3 separate regions of the Homo sapiens genome follow, and all the other regions are linked to region 2. Evidence: promoter capture Hi-C in human tissues and cell types (Jung and others, 2019). All regions are on one chromosome and are shown on one strand. The core of a region is centred on a gene start or on the middle of the fragment in contact, and the rest is flanking DNA. Distances in the headings are between cores, read along the strand shown. Region 1 holds the start of DPP9 (dipeptidyl peptidase 9). Region 2 holds the start of CAPS (calcyphosine). Region 3 holds the start of PLIN3 (perilipin 3).

Evidence for each region. Contacts are between HindIII fragments. The study calls those that stand out against the background at their distance.
Region 1: a contact is called between the fragment with the promoter of DPP9 here and the fragment with the promoter of CAPS in region 2, in 1 of the 25 tissues and cell types used here (stomach).
Region 3: the fragment with the promoter of PLIN3 here is called in contact with the fragment with the promoter of CAPS in region 2 in 1 of the 25 tissues and cell types used here (heart right ventricle).

The regions. Positions count from the first base shown.
Region 1 is chr19:4,722,361-4,725,227 of GRCh38, forward strand. It overlaps DPP9 (dipeptidyl peptidase 9), which reads right to left and starts at 1,482. Exons shown (of 22, transcript NM_139159.5): 1 at 1,314-1,482; 2 at 139-191. It overlaps TRG-TCC1-1 (tRNA-Gly (anticodon TCC) 1-1), which reads left to right and starts at 1,710; the gene lies at 1,710-1,781. TRV-CAC3-1 (tRNA-Val (anticodon CAC) 3-1) reads right to left here and starts at 2,347; the gene lies at 2,275-2,347. It overlaps LOC105372250 (a long non-coding RNA gene), which reads left to right and starts at 520. Exons shown (of 3, transcript XR_936274.2): 1 at 520-626; 2 at 2,260-2,349; 3 at 2,775-2,867. RefSeq lists silencers at 1,283-1,432, 1,663-1,752, 2,203-2,402. The HindIII fragment of the contact is 28,361 bases long and covers 1-2,867 here.
Region 2 is chr19:5,912,974-5,915,802 of GRCh38, forward strand. CAPS (calcyphosine) reads left to right here and starts at 1,281. Exons shown (of 5, transcript NM_004058.5): 1 at 1,281-1,336; 2 at 1,412-1,516; 3 at 1,590-1,767; 4 at 1,967-2,173; 5 at 2,248-2,829. The coding sequence starts at 1,434. The coding sequence ends at 2,349. The HindIII fragment of the contact is 10,666 bases long and covers 1-2,829 here.
Region 3 is chr19:4,866,318-4,869,107 of GRCh38, forward strand. PLIN3 (perilipin 3) reads right to left here and starts at 1,350. Exons shown (of 8, transcript NM_005817.5): 1 at 1,292-1,350. RefSeq lists enhancers at 318-667, 610-1,110 and a silencer at 1,328-1,507. The HindIII fragment of the contact is 15,856 bases long and covers 1-2,790 here.

The DNA.
Region 1 (2,867 bases), core at 232-2,731, 1.2 Mb before region 2:
GCCACTGCCCTGCGGAGGACAACCATCCAGGGCCATAGAAAACCATTTCCTGCCCATGTCTATATTCTAGAGCAGGCAAAGGAATCCCACCAGCCCACACCCCAGCCTTCCTGGCTGCCAAACCCCAGCACAACTGACCTTCTAAAGGGTCCAGAGAGCCTCCATTCCAGCTGCAGGCGTGGGACACAGACCTTTATAGGATAAACATGTCATGAATGTGGCAGGTTAATGGAAGCACCGGCCAGCCGTTCAGCCTCCCCCACTCAGGAGCTGCAGACTGTCAGGCCCGATTCTACCTGGCTAGATTCTAGCTCTGCCTTGAAGCCCTGCAGCACTGTCTGCATGCCCTGGACAGAATCTGGGAGAGAAGCCATCCCACGGGCCCCGATTCCCCTGGGACCCAGCAGAGGAATGCAGGGATTGGTGCCTACGGTCCACACCCCCTGGGCTTTAGTCCCAGCTCCTCGAAAGCAGGTTGGTTCTTGCCTGGGAGGCAAGTGACTTCCTCCTGGGGCCCCTGGGGAAGACCAGGGGGTGGGGGCCAAGGGAATAGACCACTTTTGATGGCTCAGAGGCAGCGTGAACAGGGAAGTGTCAGGGCTGGCCTAAGGCTGTGTGGGAAGAAGGTAGGCGGTTGGACAGGCCTGAGAAGGGAGGCTGAGAGAAGGGGGCTGAACCCTGTGGGCTGGACCCTTGGAAGACAGCTATGCTAACCACTACACCACCAACGCCTCGGCAGGAAAAAGAGTCTCTGGATACCCTTAATAGAGGGATCAAGTAGGGTTGAGGATCAGGACTGGATTGGGGAGACCAAGCCTCGGGGCGAAGGTTGGAGGAAGTGGTAAAGGAGTGAGGACAGGATGCAGGTCGAGGGAGGTGGCCTCTGTGCATATACAGCATTTGCATGGGGAGAGGGAGGAGATCGGGACCTCCAGAGCCTGCACGAAAGGGGAGAGGGTGTCAAGGTCTGCAGCTACGAGGACGTTCTTGGGTGCGGCCACCTCCGGAAGGGGTCAGAGCCTGGTGGCCTGGGCAGCAACGGGATGGGTGGGGAAGCCCATCAGGGAAGGGGAGAAACTGGGAGGTGGCCTGGCCAGCGCAGGAATCGGGGAGGGAAAGAAGGTGGAGGAGGGCCTGGGGCGGAGAGGAAACGAGGCAGGGGGCCGGAGGGACCCACAGACGGGTGCATGGAGGCTCCGGGGTGCGGGGAGGCCAGGCGATGGCGAGGGCAGGGTCAGGGCCGAGGCGGGGCCGGTCAATGGCGGGTTCAGGGTCGCGGCCGGGGCGGGACGAGGCGCGCGGGCGCTGCTCACCGGGACGTGGGGCGGCGGCCGGACTGGGCAGGTCGTCCCGGGTCCAGCGGCGCCTCACGGTCGCGGCTCCATGCCCGGGACTGCGACCCCGGAAGTGGCGGGAGCGGGGGACGACAGCCGCGGCGGACACAGGGGACCCGCCGGCTCAGGCACCTTTGACCCGGAAGTTGAGCGACCCAGGCGGCGGCCTGGGATTGGACACCACCAGGCACGTACCAAGGCGTCCGCGGCGCTTGGGGGGGAGCCCGCGGCGCGGCGGCCTAAGGTGCGTAACGCCCCATGAACGACATCTTCCGGTGGGTTAGGGAGAGACACCCCCCTGTGACTTGGTATCACTCAGTCAAACCCATGATCCCCCACTATTAAGGATATCCGGAGAGGATGCTACCTATCAGGGCGTTGGTGGTATAGTGGTTAGCATAGCTGCCTTCCAAGCAGTTGACCCGGGTTCGATTCCCGGCCAACGCATGCGGTACCACTTTTGCGAGTTTGAAATTTTCATTTTAGTTTTGAGACGGAGTCTCGCTCGGTCCCCCAGGCTGGAGTGCAGTGGCGTGATCTCCGCTCACTGCAACCACCACCTCCCAGGTTCAAACGATTCTCCTGCCTCAGCCTCCCAAGTAGCTGTGATTACAAGCGCACGCCACCACGCCCATCTAATTTTTGTATTTTTAGTAGAGATGGGGTGGGGTGGGGCGGGGTGGGGCGGGGTGGGGGGGGGGGGGCGGTTCACCATTTTGGCCAGGCTGGTCTCGAACTCTGACTTCAGGTGATCCGCCCTCTTCGGCCTTTCAAAGTGCTGGGATTACAGGCGTGAGCCATCAATCACGGAAAATTTTTTTAAATCCCATAAAAATGTCTAAAAGGCAGGAGGAAGGCGGAAGAGAAAGAATGGGACTAGAATCGTTCTTTCGGTGAATTTCAAATAGTATTACTCTCCGGTTAGGAAAAACAGCTGACCTGTTTCCGCCCGGGATCGAACCGGGGACCTTTCGCGTGTGAGGCGAATGTGATAACCGCTACACTACGGAAACCGGTAGGCGTCAGGGTTCTTTAAATTCTCCTATAGAGATAATGTTGCAGTGATAGTTGCGTTGTCCCACCAAAGAAACACTGGCTACAGTCAGCTAAAGCAATATCCGCTCTTCCTGAATATCTGTTATTGTATTTGATACAGTAGAGACCGAAAGAAGGAAAATAAGGAAGACAAAAAGAAATCCAATAAACACCCTTTCCAACACACCCACCCACCCACACACATGTTTATCACTTTATCATAAATCCACCTTCCATTAAAACAATGCACGTCAAACGGCCCACAAACCCATCCGGGGTCAAATGAAGCTTTTCATCTCATAGATATCAATCTATACTTGATATCACATTAGTTTCTGCAGATATTCACCATTTTGCTTTAGATCAAACTACTTTTTTGTGTGTTTTGTTTTTTGTATTTTTTAGAGAGAGTCTCGTTCTGTCGCCTAGGCTCGAGTGCAGTGGTACGATCATCCCTCCCTGCAGCCTCCACCTCCTGGGCTCAAGCGATCCTCCCAC
Region 2 (2,829 bases), core at 31-2,530:
ATTGATGATCCTTGGGTCGGGGCGAACAGTGGGTCCTCAAACAGGGCCCACGTTTCAAGTCCTGGAAAACCCACCTATCTTAGCGGGCAGGTATATCCGATGTCTCCGTTGAAGGCCTTCAGTGAGGTGGCTTCGTCTCTTGAGGTTTATGTCCAGGATCAGGGCTGCTCTTCCACTCGGGGTCACAACCTCTGGCTCACCACCTTGTCAGGAGCCAGCCCACTAAGTCACGTTTCAGGCCTGAAAACCAACAACAAAAGATCCGTAAAGACAGAAATCCTGGGACTGGCTCCTAACAACGGCCAGTGACAAGCTTTGTGGCAGTGAGCAGAGGTGTCCCTCAGGCTCAGCTCAGTCTCTGTGGGTTGCAGGACCTGCCCTTGGAGGTGGGCCTGGGTGGGAGGTCTTAGGGCCCCAGGACCTGGGCCACCTGGGGCTTTTTTTTTTTTTTTCTTTTTGAGATGGAGTCTTGCTCTGTCGCCCAGACTGGAGTGCAGTGGTGCAATCTTGGCTCACTGCAAGCTCCACCTCCTGGGTTCAAGCGATTCTCCTGCCTCAGCTTCCTAAGTAGCTCGGATTACAGGCGCCCACCATCATGCACGGCTAATTTTTGTATTTTTAGTAGAGGCGGGGTTTCACCATGTTGGTCAGGCTGGTCTCAAACTCCTCACCTTGTGATCTGCCCACCTCGGCCTCCCAAAGTGCTGGGATTACAGGCATGAGCCACCGCGCCCAGCCCACCTGGGGCATTTTTGTTGCTGTACAATAGAAACAAGTTCTCTATATGTTCCCCAGGCTGGTCCAAACTCCTGGGCTCAAGTGATCCTCCCACCTAGACCTCCCAAAGTGCTGGGATTTCAGGCATGAGCCGCAGTGGCCGGTCAGAACCTGGGGCCCTTTTGAACTTTGATTCCTCAGCAATTTTGTCAGCCCTGGCTCGGGCTGAGAAGCCCCTGTGAAGCCAGAGAGGGAAAGGGACCTGTCCAGGGTCACACAGGAATCATGCGTCAAGCCTCCCCAGCCACGGACTTGTCTCCATCCAGGGCATTTCAGCCCCTGCAGGGCAGTGGCCTGCCCCTCCTCCTTGGAGCCAGGAAGGGATGCAGTGCCACAGGGATCTGGCTCTGTCCCAGGCCCTGTGGGGCTGGCAGTTGAGTAAGCAGTCAGGCTGGGCGCACCCATCCCTCCCCCACTCCCCACTGCCCAGCACAGTGCATTCATGCAGCTGGGCCCCACCCCATCTCCAGAGGCACCTTCCACTAGCAACAGTCTCCCCAGGCACAACACAGCTAACACAAGGCCCCGCAGGCAGGACTCTGGGACAGACGCAGGCCAGGTGAGCATCTGAACAAGGGGCAGTCGGCCAGGGTGGGCTTGCGGGAGTCCCCACCTTGACCTCTCTCCCTTCCAGCTGCCCAGAGCCCAGACCAAGCATGGACGCCGTGGATGCCACCATGGAGAAACTCCGGGCACAGTGCCTGTCCCGCGGGGCCTCGGGCATCCAGGGCCTGGCCAGGTGAGCTGTCCCCTCTCACCTTCCTGACCCCGGCCCCTGAGACCACTGTTCCAACCGTGTCCCCTGCCTCCAGGTTTTTCCGCCAACTAGACCGGGACGGGAGCAGATCCCTGGACGCTGATGAGTTCCGGCAGGGTCTGGCCAAACTCGGGCTGGTGCTGGACCAGGCGGAGGCAGAGGGTGTGTGCAGGAAGTGGGACCGCAATGGCAGCGGGACGCTGGATCTGGAGGAGTTCCTTCGGGCGCTGCGGGTGAGCCCCCACCTCACAGTCAAGGCGTGTGCCCTGGGCATGGGGCGACAGAGGATGCTGAGATGCGGAGACGGGGACTCCTCCCTAAGAGCTGCTGTTAAGAGGCGCCTGCTGGGGCATACAGCCCCAGTGCTCTGCACAGCGTCTTGGGGGTTTGGGTGTGCTACCCACCACCCCCAGTCACCACCTCCTGTCCCAGCCCCCCATGTCCCAGGCCCGGGAGGCTGTCATCGCAGCTGCATTTGCCAAGCTGGACCGCAGTGGGGACGGCGTCGTGACGGTGGACGACCTCCGCGGGGTGTACAGTGGCCGTGCCCACCCCAAGGTGCGCAGTGGGGAGTGGACCGAGGACGAGGTGCTGCGCCGCTTCCTGGACAACTTCGACTCCTCTGAGAAGGACGGGCAGGTGGGTGGCTGCGCGGGGGGCCCCCTCCCCAGGCAGTTCCTCGGCCGTGCCCCCTCACGGCCCTCTGTTCCCAGGTCACACTGGCGGAATTCCAGGACTACTACAGCGGCGTGAGTGCCTCCATGAACACGGATGAGGAGTTCGTGGCCATGATGACCAGTGCCTGGCAGCTGTGAGCAGCTCCGGCTCAGCCCTGCTGCCCTGGCCTGTCACTCCCCACCCCTGCCGGAGACCTCCCTTCCCTGGGCCCCTTCTCTCCTGGGCAGCCACACCACAGAGCGGGGAGGGGCAGGTGGGGGAATGGAGGCTGCAGGACTGGCTAGACCAGGTCCCTGCCGGTCCACCAGGCGGAGGTGGGACAAAGGTCCTAACAGGAGTCACTGGCTCAGGACCCCAGGGAGAAACGCTCTCCCCACCCACGCCATGCTGACCAGAGATCTTGCAGCCCCTGTGGATGCCCCCGCCGAGGTCCCCCGATCCCCGCACCCGGACTGCTGCTCCCTGCCCCTCCCTTGCGGGTCCCCCAGGAAGCCAGGTGACCCCAGGTGGGAGGCTGTGTGTGGAGGCCATCCTGGAAGGAAGTTTAGACCTGCCCAGGTGTGGAGCGAGGGGCACAGGGGCATCCTAACCTCAGAAACTGAAATAAAGCCTTTGAA
Region 3 (2,790 bases), core at 100-2,599, 1.0 Mb before region 2:
CAGAATGGGTTCTAATCCCAGCTTGGCAACTCACTAGGAATAGGAGTTTGGGAAGGCAGCATCCCCTAGGAGTCTTGCTTGCCACATCTGTGAAATGTGTATAAGTGTTTCACAAGAGCCTGGAGTCCCTGTGGACTGGAGGAGACGCTGCTCCGGGGAAGCTCAGATCCGTGCCCGGCACATAGTAAGTGCTCCATAAACTATCTCACCGCACTCTGGCTTCCACGGACAAAGGGGTAAAGCCAGCCAGGAACCAGCTTCCTGCTAGGTACAAAAGTCCCCCAACTGGGAAGTCAGGTGAGAAGACATACCTACCTCCCAGTGATCATTGCCTAAATCTGTGCTTCTCCTCACCTCCTTTGGAGCCTGAGCTCACCTGGGCAGGGGGCCAGGTAGGCAGGCATCAAACTCCTGGCCTCGACCGATTCTCAAGTCCCACTTAGGACTCAGGCAGCTTCCTCCCGTCCCCTCTGTCCACCATGACTTCCTGGAACTGGTTTAAGCAAGGGTGGCCATGGCAGATGTCAACACCCTATGAAACCCCTGGGGGTCAGTGACCTGCCTTGCCGCTGGCTCCAGAAGGGGAGCTCCAGGCCAGACCCAGCCATCCAGCAACTTCAGAGCATGCTAAGACTGGACTTCCAAAATTCCAAGGGCCCCAGGTCCCACTGCCAGGCCTAGCCGGGACAAGAACCCCAAAGCAGTTAACGGATAGGCCTTCCTACTTTTAAGCCACCTCGTCGCCACGCCCACCCGAGGGAAGTGGGCAGGCTTTGCCCAAGACCTCCCCAGAATCAGTTGGGGGCGCCAGGAGCTGGGGCAACCCCCACCCCCACCCGTGGCAAAACCATCTGTAGGGGAGGGGGCTTTGCGGTGGCGGGGGGTGTCTCTGAAAACCCCAGAAGGGAGGGCGGAGATTCTGCCCGCAGGAGGAAACTTGCCTGCAAATGGCGTTTCCAAAAGCAAACTGTTCAAAATTTAGAGAAAACCTGGTGGGCGGGGGGCGGTATTTAGCCCACCCCCTTCAATATCACCCCTTCTACGGGGCTCTTTCGCCCCTCAAAAGTCCCAGGAAGTGAGAAGAGGGTTTCAAAGTCTGAGCTTCGTTGCAGAAGTTGGATTTTTCTGGGGGGAGGGGTGACCAGCCTGGGCTGAAGACCCCTCCCCAGGCCGCAGAGTCCAGCAAATCCCACCCCGAGAAAGGCCCTCCCCGACCCCTCCGGCCCCTGGGGTGCCCCAGGACTCCATGGACACCGCCCCCCAGCTCAACTGAGACGCCCCCGCCACTCACCGCGGTCAACCGGACGTCCCAGGAACAGCTGCCGCGACTTCAAAACCAGCTTGGAAACCGTCCGGGCCGAGGCGGGGGTGGCTTTTACTGCGTGGTAGGTTGGGGGCGCACTGGAGTGACGGGCGAGGGGACCAATCAGGTTGAGGGATTGCCCGCGCCAGGCCCGCCCCTCTCCTCCCTGCCCCGCCTCCACTAGGCCCCGCCCCTCGCCAAGTCATGAAGTCCGGGAAGGACTCCACGCCCTGCCCCTGAAGGGGAGGGAGCACTCTTGGACCACGCCTGTCCCAGCCACGGGACCCCCGCTCCGCAGCTGGGGACCCTGTGAAGTTGGCCCTGGGAGGTGAGTGCGATCGGGGGCGCCGCACAGGTGCTGGGATTCCCCAGGTCGCCCATTTCCCCTATGGCCAAACTGAGGCTGCGAGAACCCTGGGAGAGTTGCAGGGTGACCCTCGCCAGCGCGTCAGGGGCCACGCCCTCCACCATGGGCTCCGACTCAGCTATATGTACACACACACACACACACACACACACACACTTTTTTTTTTTTTTTGAGACACAGTCTCGCTCTGTCGCTAAGGCTGGAGTGCAGTGACGCGACCTTGGCTCACTGCAGCCTCCACCTCCTGGATTCAAGCGATTCTCCTGCCTCAGCCTCCTGAGTAGCTGGGATTACAGACACGTGCCACCACGCCCGGCTAATTTTTTGTATTTTTAGCAGAGACGGGGTTTCACCATGTTGGTCTTGAACTCCTGACCTCAAGTGATCTGCCCGCTTGGGCCTCCCAAATTGCTGGGATCACAGGTATGAGCCACCGCACCCGGCCCAACCCAGCTATATGAGTGACTTGAACCACCACGGGAACTTGTCCAGCCTCCGGCCTGATCTGCCCAACATCAGACCACTTCATCCTCCCAGCACTGTATTGTCTTTTTAATCATCCCTATTTTGCAGAGAAGGAAACTGAGGCCTGGAGAGGGTCAGCCAGGGGCAATGGAGGGGTCAGGCTCCAGGCTCTGTGACTGCTGGATCAACCTTTTCCTGAAGCTGCCCCCACTTGGATTTTACCCCGCCCCTCTCCACCTCCCAAATTATTTATCCTCTTGGTCTATAAACCAAGGTCTCAATCTCAGATGGTCCAGGGAGGAGGTGAATATTTCTGCTGAGGAGGTGGCAGTGATGCCCTGCTTAGAGGGGCAGGGGAGAGCAGTGCCCTATGGGAGACCCACCTGGAGAGTCACAGATCCACAGGAAGTTCAAGCTGTAGACATGTCCTGCCTGTTAGGGAACAATTGGACCAAATGAAACCCAACTGGGGCTTTGTCCAGCCCAGGGGCCACCAGTTTGCCACCTCTGCCAAATTATTTGAATAGAATGAAGCTTCTGGTAGCTTTAGAAAGAACATGGGAAAAATTGGGTGTCTGTGACTGCATTTTTTTGGGGGGGTGAGTGGGGACAGGGTCTATGCTAGCACTGTCCAATAGAACTTTCTGCAATTCTA